Linked DNA regions of Homo sapiens: region 2 is linked to region 1. Evidence: promoter capture Hi-C in human tissues and cell types (Jung and others, 2019). All regions are on one chromosome and are shown on one strand. Each heading gives the region's core, a stretch centred on a gene start or on the middle of the fragment in contact. The rest is flanking DNA. Distances are from core to core; before and after follow the strand shown.

Region 1 (4,472 bases), core at 1,462-3,961:
TGGGACTTCGCCTCCCACGCAGGCAGCCTGCAAGGTGAGGGGTGGGTGGTGCCCAGCACAGCAGCAAAGACTTTGTGGGAACCTTGAGACCTGAAAGAACAGGAGAGTGGGCAGTGAAGGACCACGCAGGACAGTAGCCAGGGCTCCATGGGGAGGGGCTGGGGCCGGTGGATGGCGCTGGTCTTCCAAGGCAGAGGCCCCCCGACCCCGTCAGAGCCTCCCAGCGAGCCCGAACACTGGGGAGTGGCCTGGGCCGCAGGGTGTCTGGGGTCTGGGGAGGAGCTCATTTGGCCGGGACAGCTGATGGTGGGGTCTGGGTGGAAGGGTGGTGCTCCGTTACCTGTTGTCACTCTCCTGGCTCTGATGGTGCCAGCTGCTGCCTCAGCCGGATTTGAGGACTCAGCCCCTCTGGGACCCTCCGCCTGCCATGGGTGAGTCATGAGCTGAGCTCTGATTCTTCTCCAGGCGGGCGTGAATCACTGGAGCTGGGGGAGAGAAAGCGCGGGTCCATGTGAGAGCTGGCTCAGCAAACTGCCCCTGCCTCCCACCCGGCCCACTCTCCCCAATGCCCCCTTCCATGATGCCAGCCCCACCCCATCCCTTTGGCTAACTTGCTGGGGGCCCAAGCCTCAGTGGGCTCTCCTAGAAAACAGCCTCCGGATCCCGCCAGCTCTCAGATGCCCCACAGCCGGTACTGCCTTGGGGCAGGGGCTCACCTGAGGGGCCAGGAAGCACCGGGACATCAGGTCTGCTCTGCTGCGTGTGCGACTTCTACTCTCCCCTGGGAGGAGGGGGCCGCGCTGCCCGAGGCTGGCCAGCTGCCCTGGGAGGCAGGGAGGGCGTCAGCTGGCTCTGCGGATGCCGGGAGAGGGCGGCGGCGCCGGAAGTCGAGGCTCCCTCAGCATTGGCTCTGCCCTAGCTTCTGCTCTGGGTGTCCCATGAGCTTGGTGGCCGCTGGCCCCTGCCATCCGGACACTTGGTTTTCTGGATGTCCAGAGGGCCTGGGTGTTGTAGCAGAATGAGGAAGCTGGGGTGTTCTGTGATGGCCTGAGAGTGTGGAGGGTGGGGTCCAGGCCGGAAAGACAGACGGAGGGAGGGTGATGGGTGGAGCCCTGCAGGGGGGAGGGCTCTTTGCCGCTGGGTGCGGTGCTCACATCTGGATGACACGAGTGTGTGCGAGTCCGCCCGGAGCTCGAGGGGGCACCCAGCTGGACCAGGGCTTCCCCTGCAGGAGTCAGCCCCAGCTCAAAAGTCCTGGTGGGCAAAGCCACAGGCTGGATGTAGTGGGCAGGCTGGGGGCTCCGGGATGCCCTCTACTCGGGCTGGGTCCGGTCACTGGCCACGGACTCGCTGTTGGGGGCGGGCGTGAGGGTCTCCGCCTCATCCTCCACCGGGAGGTGGGGGCCGGCCGGCTCGGCCGCCTGCTCCAGGTCATCCTGCACCTCCATGCCCCTCTGGATGAGCTGCTCCAGGGTCTTGGGCAGGGGGTGGCGCAGGAAACGCTTGAGCTTGGGCTGCAGGGTGCCCACCACGTACTGGATGATCTCCTCCTCGTCCGCGTCCACGTAGAGCGTCTGGTACAGGTCCCGCTTGCGCCACAGGAACTGGTCCAGCGGCTCGCCCTGCTTCTGCGGCAGGTCCAGCTCGCGCTGGATGGCCTCTCGGGACAGCGTGCCCTCGCTGTACTGCAGGAACTCCTTCTTGAACTCCACCCAGTTCTTCACGGAGCCCTGCTTGAACTCCCACCACTTCTTGGCCGGCCCGTTCATGTGATTCTGGATCTGGGACAGCCAGTACTCCTCAGAGCCGCCCACCTGCCGCAAGTACTCCTCTAGGTGGCTCAGGAACTCTCGAGGGTCCTCGAAGATCTGCGTGTCCACGCCGGGGCTGGGCTGCCCGTCCTCGCCGGGGACCCACGGCTGGTACTGCTGGGCCTCGGCGGGCTCCTGCCCGGGCAGCTCGCCAGCGGCTGGGGGCGGGGTGATGGCGTAGGGGCTGACGGTGTAGTCGTAGCCGTCTGCCTCGTGGCAGTAGCTCTCGGGACCCCCCACGCCCACGGAAACGGTGTGGCGGGCTGACTCGCTGCCCACCGGGTACTTGCCGCCCGTGGACTCCAGGCGGTCGGCCCAGCGCTCCAGGCGGTAGAACACCTCGCGCCACACGTGCATCTCGCGCTTGACCCAGCGCTCCAGGTTGGCGATGGTCTCCTGGCAGCGGCACAGGCAGGCCTTGATGGACTTCTTCCAGCGCTGCGAGTCGCTCGTGGGCACGTAGCCGTCCAGGTTGCTCTCCAGCTTCCCGACCGACCGGTGCAGCCCCTTCAGCTCGCGCTCCACCTGCTTGGACACCTCGGCCAGCAGGTGCCGGTGCGTCCGCCGCACGTGCTCCAGCATCTCGGCCCGGCACTTCCCGATCTGCAGGATCACGTTGGGCTTGGCCACCTGCCCGCCCCGCGGCCCGGGGTAGGCGTGGAGCCCGCCGCTGGTCCGGTGGTCCAGCTCCATCTGTGCGCAGGTGCTCCGGCAGGCGGCAAACTCCTCGGGGCGGACAGAGGGTGGTCCGGCGCTGGGGTCCGGCGGCCTGGGTCCCGTGCGGAGCTGCGGGGAGCGCCTGTCTGTCGCTGCGGGCCGGCGGCGGGGCCGGCGGAGCACGCCCGGGGAGGCAGGTCCGGCTCGGCTGCTGCGGAGGGAGGACGCCGCGCCCGAGCTCTGCGCTGAGTCCTGGCCGCCGGCTCTTTATGCAGCCAGCGAGGCCCGTGGGCGGCCGGCTCGCCGAGCCCGGTTTCTCATTGGCCCAGCCGCAGGCTCCCCGCCAGCGCCCCGCCCGCGCCCCTGCAGGCCCCGCCCTGCGCCCACTCGGCTCCCGGGCGGCAAGGGACGGGAGGTCCCACCCCCTGCACACATGGCGGGGCCAGGATGACTAATCCCTCCGCTCCGTACCTCCCACCCCGGACGGCGGGGCTCATTCAGCCTGCGGGGACCGAGGGACTGAGCCGGGCACTGGGCGCCCCTCCCACGCCCCCTCCCGGGCGCTGGGCGGGCTGTCATCTGCTGCCTCCCAGGGTCCCAAGGTGGCCTTCCTCCTCTCCACTCGCCTCTCTCTTTGCGGGGCTGGAGGGGGCTGGCGCTGGCCACTGCTCTCCTGGGTCCTCACTGCCCCTGACCCCGCCCACCCAGCTCTGCAGGATGTGCAGCTGAGCCCGGGAAGGACCCTCACCATCAGCCTCTGTGCCCAGGGGCTCAGCAAGTCTCCATGTGAGCTCCCAGATGTGGCTTTGAGCTCCCACTCACTCCTGCCCGGGTCCTGAGTCCAGGTCTTGGGCTCTGTGTGAGGGACGCACAGCCAGGCAGAGGCTCGCTCTGCCTGGCCCTGGCGTTGGTGTGCATGGGTGACAGGGGCCCACGTGGCAGTGACTGGACAGGGCTGCCCCATGCCCCCATACGCAGGTCTCTGGTGAGGCCCAATACTTTTCTGTGTTTCCAGGGAAATCTGGCAGCTGCTACCTGGGGGGCTGGGGTTTGGAGGACATGGAGGGGACATTTAGCCCCCAGTGAAGGGAATTGGGCCCTGAAGACCCTGGCTATATCAAGAACCTGGCCAGAGGCTCCAAGACTTCTAAGGGGATGGAAGAGGGGAGGAGAGAGGGAGACAGGGAGGGAGGTGGAAGGAGGGAAAGGAGAAGGGGAGGGAGGAGAGGCGAGGAGGGAGAGGGAGGGGGGCCGGTGCTGGCAGCACAGTGCCATCAGGAGAGGCAGAGGGAAGCCAAGCACCATATAAGGAGCGGGGCTCCGGAAGCCGAGACTCCCTCGGGAGGGAGGTCCCTTCTGCCTCCCTGGCAACCTGGCGGGGGTAGGGACGCCCTTCCTGAGTTACTCCAGTGCTGGCTGGATAGGCATGGGTCTCAGGTCCTCTGATGTTACCCAGGCAGGGGTGACACACACCATTCCCCACAGCCAGAGGGCCATGAGGACATCATCGCTGACAATCAAGACATCTTGTTCCTGCTGCCAGCTGCCCTTTCCCTCTCTCAGACACACACATGCTGCACACTCACACCCCCACATACACACTCATAGCCCCCACTCTAACCCCACCCCACACACTCATGCCCTCACTCACAGCCCCCACACACACTCATACCCCCCACTCATAGCTCCCACATACACACTCATACCCCCCACTCATAGCTCCCACATACACACTCATACCCCCCACTCACAGCCCTCAGCTCCCCCCAGCATCCCCTGTCTTATTCAGGCACTCAAGGGCACACAGGTGCCCACTTGCTGGAATCCCCCCTCCCTGCCAACCCTCTGAGCCCCCCCCCAACCGGCTCTCCCGGGGAGCCCTCTCCCAGCCTCAGAGCCAGTCTGTCTCCTCCTTCCTTCCGCCCCTGGGGGGGAATGTCTTTCTGGCAAAAAAACTCCCCAAAAATGGCTCTCCTGGCATTTCTAATTAAAGGTAAGTGGGCG
Region 2 (4,472 bases), core at 1,242-3,741, 120 kb after region 1:
TCTCTATCCACCCCCACCATTCCCCTTTTTACTTTTTTTCCCCTTTCTTCCTACACTTAGTTTCTCGGGCTGGGTGGGATTTGCATGGCTGCAGTCCGGCCCCGGCAGCCCAGAGGCTTGGCAGATGCCTGCCACAAATTGCAAGAATTATGCCCTCTCACCTCCTCTGCTCTCTTCCTGGCGCCGCTGTGCTTGCTGTTTTTGCTTTCTTTTTTTCTGACTTCCTCTCCTAGTTCTTTTTCCTGTCTGCTGGTCTTTCCTTTGTCTCTGCCAGCCACCTATGCTGCTGTTTTCCCCCCTCTCCTTCCCCTTCCCCTGGGGGACCAACCAGCGGGAGTGAAGCTTAGCCTTTTTCTTTCCCTGTGAAGAGGGGAAAAGGGAGTTTTGAATATATATATATATATATATATATATATATATATATATATATATATTTTAACTACTGGAGGTTTGTGTGAGGTTCAACCCCCTGAAATTAATGGAAGACTTAACCCCTCAAACCAGGGGTGTCTTGCCTTGCCTGCCCTGGGAGGTTGACCTGTTTCCTCCTTTCCCCCCAAAGGTCCCTTGCATACTTCCCACTTGTGTTGTCCTCTCTGGTCGCCCCCCCAAGGGAGAATTAGGCCCCTCTTAGTGTAGGCGTGCTGGTATAAATCCCACAGCAGGACCTGCCCTAAGCCATATGAGGTCACTACAGAACCGGAACCATGGAGGGGACCCACTCACTGTCCAGCAGGAGGACTTGTCACCGTCCACACAAACCACACTGCAAGCAGGGTTGTCTGTGATCATTCACACATACACACATTCAGCCCTCCAGAATTTCACCACCAAGGAAGTACTTTACCAGCTTCTGTGGCTTCTCCTTCCTTGGTCTGTGCACAGAGTTGCAGCCCTGGTATGTGAGCATCCTTTACCTTAGGTTGCTGGCCAGTTTCTTTTTTTTTTTTTTTTCTGCATTGCTGAGAGTCCGGGTTTATTCGTCACACCAGGTGGGTCTCAATTTCTCATCCCTGAGGCCACTGCAGTGAGGCAGAGGAGCGTGCTCCCTCATGAGAGAGGAACAGAGACCGCCCCCGCAGGAGAATGTAGCCCTGTACGGATTGCCACCAAATTGTTTGAAATGCTTGTTCCCCGGTGCCGTAAAGAAACAGCAGTTGAACATAAATTTAATTTACTCAGCAAGGACATTTTTACTTCCTGCAGAAAGGACACACTTGCCATCAGCTTTGCCACAAGAGTTCACCCAACAAAGGAAACAGGGTCATTTATAACCTGACGCGTCCACCCTATTGCCGTCTCTGGTTTCCATTGACTGGGATGGGACCTCACATTCTGTATCTGTCCCGATTGGCTAGCAACGTACAACTTTTTAAAAGAGGCAAAGGCAGAGGAGAACAAAGGAAGGAAGTAATTTGTGGAATGCTGAGAAAGGTAAAAACACCTTCAAATAAGGAAGAGGAACAGGCTATGACCTAATGCCCGCTTGGACCAGTATAAGCATGCCAGGGCAAATATTTAGGCTAAATTGTGGGAGCTAAGAACCTAAAGTAGTACATTGCTTTCTTTATTACTGCTAGCAGATATTTAATAATGTTAGCACAGGTCTTTGAATAAATTTTGCTTCTAAGAGAAGTTACTATTTATTCCTAATTAGATCGGTAGGAAAGTCTTTGAAGAGGAACCTCTACTTTACAACTAAACATCTAGAGGCTCGGAATGCCTCTTTCTGGGGATGCAGCCCAGCAGGCCCCAGCCTCATTTCCCAGCCCTCACTCAAAATGGAGTCGCTCTGGTTCCAGCGCCTCTGACACTGAGAGGTCATGTCAGGAATGGGGAAACTGAGGCTCAGAGGAGCTATGGCACTGCACAAAGCTACACGGCTCCCTGGTCTTCTGTTTCTGTTGAGTCATGTGAACCAAAAAGTATCGGAGATATGTCTCAGTCAATTTAGAAAGTTTACTTTGCCAAGGATAAGGACTCACCAGTCCTGACAACATGTGCCCAAGGTGGTCGGGGCACAGCTTGCTTTTATACATCTCAGGGAGGCACAATACATCTGTCAGTACATGTAAGATTCACATTGATGCCATCTGGAAGGGGGGCTTTCAGGTCATGGTAGATGTAAAAGTTTTCTGATTGGCAGTTGGTTGAAAGAGCTATTATCAGTAGAAAGGCATGTCTGGGTTAAGATACTGGTTGTGGAGACCTAGGTTTTATTATGCAGATGAAGCCTCCAGGCTGCAGGCTTCAGAGGGAATAGATCATAAATGTTTCTTGTCGGACTTAAGGTCTGTGTTGTTAATGCTGGAGGGCATAACAGGCCTGTCCCACACCCTCTTCTATCATGGCCTGGGCTAGTCTTTCTGGTTAAATGTGGAGGGCCCTGGCCTATTGGAGGAAGTTCATTCAGATGGTTGGGGGTACCTTCCGATGTTATTTTTGGTTTACAGTCAGGAACCCCCTAAAAGGCCTAGATCTCTCTCTGTCCCCAGGTGCTGGACTCTATGTCTTTCATGCATCTAGAGTCCAGAGGCAAAGGCCACCAAGGCTGAGAGCCGGGCACGGAGGCCGAGGAGATGGGGAGCCAGGGTTGCTTTTCTGGGAAAGAGGGAGTGATAAAATCAGGCATGGGCTGGTTGGTGAGGTCCCTGTGGGAGGTGAAGGCTGGGACCCAGAACAGCAGAGACTCTGTCGATGATGTGGAAAGACCGCGGCTGCAGTTTGGGCAGGCTGAGCCAGGGTTGGGTCTTGCATGTTGAGAGGCTGGCCTGCGGTGATGTGGCCAAAGAGGAAGAGCTGGGCTGGGGTGAGTGTTGGTCACATGGTTGAAACTAGGTGGGGAGGGGAGTGGTCCAGGGGAGAGTCCAGGCCCAGCTCTGCTGGGACTTGCCATGGGGGTCACGACTCATCTGCAGGGAAGGTCTGGGCTTTATCTCTGAGCACCTCTGTGTGCTGCTCACCCTGAAGTGGGGGTGGGCCTGTGCCTGGCCTGTCCCCTCATCCTGGGAGCTCCCAATGCCCATCTGCAAGGCTGTGGACCCCTCAGGAGTGGCCTGGAGCCTGGCTCCCATTGCCACATGGTGGCTGTGTGTGTGGAGAGGGTTGATAGTGGAGTGGTCAGGCCCAGGCTGCCCTGGGGGATGAAGTGCCATCCTCTGGGTGCCCTGGAGAAAGAAGAGAACTCAGTGAGCCCTGTCTGGTACTTTCCTGGAGGAGGGCTCCCATGCTGGCCCTCCACCCCTCTGTCCCCTGTCACCCTGAGGCCTCTGGATTTCCTCTCTGCCCTTCCCAACCTGCCAACTTCACGGGTTTCTGGCTGGGTTCTGGGGATGGCCCCTAGGGGAGACGGGCCAGGCACAAGCGGGGCTGTGTCAAGGTGGGTATGCAGGGGTAGCACAAGTGTGCAGAGCCTGGGGAGGCATGGGCAAAGCATGGCAGGCGGCGGGGCAGGGGATCTTGGAAGGTCACGGGCTGGGGAGCAGTGTGGGCAGCGGCCCAGAGGTGGGAAGGCCGTAGCTTAGCTGGGTGTCCCCTTTCTGTCCTCTGCAGGTGGAGCCCCCTGAGCTGCCCGCTGATCTGCAGCACTGGATCTCCTACAACGAGGCCAGCAGCCAGCTGCTCCGCATGGAGAGTGGGCTCAGTGATGTCACCAAGGACCAGTGACCGCCACCTTCACACCGTCTGCCCTGGCCACCATCCTGGGCCTGGGGGCTGCCCACAGATGGGCAGTCTCAGCCATACTCTGTTCCAGCTGGAGTAGCCTCCTGACCAGCCTGGCCCACCCTGCTCCACCCACTGGGCCCCCCCAGTTATTGATACCCCTCTGTGCTGGGCTCCACGCTAGGCAGAAGGAGGAGTGGCATTGGCATCCTGACCCAGCTCTGCCCTCAAGGTGGGGATGGATGGGCAAAGGAGAGTCCTGCCTGGCCCTACGATGAGGCCACTCATGTGGGCCTAGGTAGGGGAGGATGGTGCCTGGAGCAGAGGGACCCACAAGTGCCTCCCGAGCCTAGATCCTGGCTCGGACCACTGCAAGGGCCGAGGCAGGGCCAGACCAGAGCATCCTGGGTACAGGCCTGGGCTCTCCAGGGCCTGGGCCTGATTCAGGTGCAGTGGGCACTCCTGAAGGGTCAGAGCGGCATCTGCCAGGCAGCCCCTCTGGCTTCCGCTGAGGTGGTTGCAGGCCTGGGGCAGAGCCTGGGTGGTCAGAGGCCGGGGCTAGAGGCAGATGGAAGGGAGGCATTTGCTGACAGAGGACGGGGCACCCGGGCTCCCCACTGCAGTCGGCCTTGCCTCCTCCTCCTCCTCTACCTCCAGTCAGGCTGGACGGGAGGGTAGCCTTGTGGCTGAGAGGGGTCAGACTAGGTGGCACAGGGGCTCCTGGAAAGACAGCAGGCTTCCTGCTGGGCGTTCCCTTGTTGGAGGGAATAGAGTGGGGGTGGGACTCTGCAGGGGTGTCCTTGTCCACT

Evidence for each region. Contacts are between HindIII fragments. The study calls those that stand out against the background at their distance.
Region 2: a fragment that was not itself captured here is called in contact with the fragment with the promoter of ARC in region 1 in 2 of the 25 tissues and cell types used here (IMR-90 fibroblasts and dorsolateral prefrontal cortex).

What each region holds. Positions count from the first base shown.
Region 1 is chr8:142,611,768-142,616,239 of GRCh38, forward strand. ARC (activity regulated cytoskeleton associated protein) reads right to left here and starts at 2,712. Exons shown (of 3, transcript NM_015193.5): 1 at 717-2,712; 2 at 341-485; 3 at 1-90. The coding sequence starts at 2,504. The coding sequence ends at 1,314. RefSeq lists an enhancer at 1,905-2,803 and a silencer at 2,819-3,028. The HindIII fragment of the contact is 38,144 bases long and covers 1-4,472 here.
Region 2 is chr8:142,731,774-142,736,245 of GRCh38, forward strand. It overlaps THEM6 (thioesterase superfamily member 6), which reads left to right. Exons shown (of 2, transcript NM_016647.3): 2 at 3,553-4,472. The coding sequence ends at 3,666. Among named protein-coding and RNA genes, the nearest start is that of THEM6, 6.8 kb to the left of the region's middle. The HindIII fragment of the contact is 7,269 bases long and covers 1-4,472 here.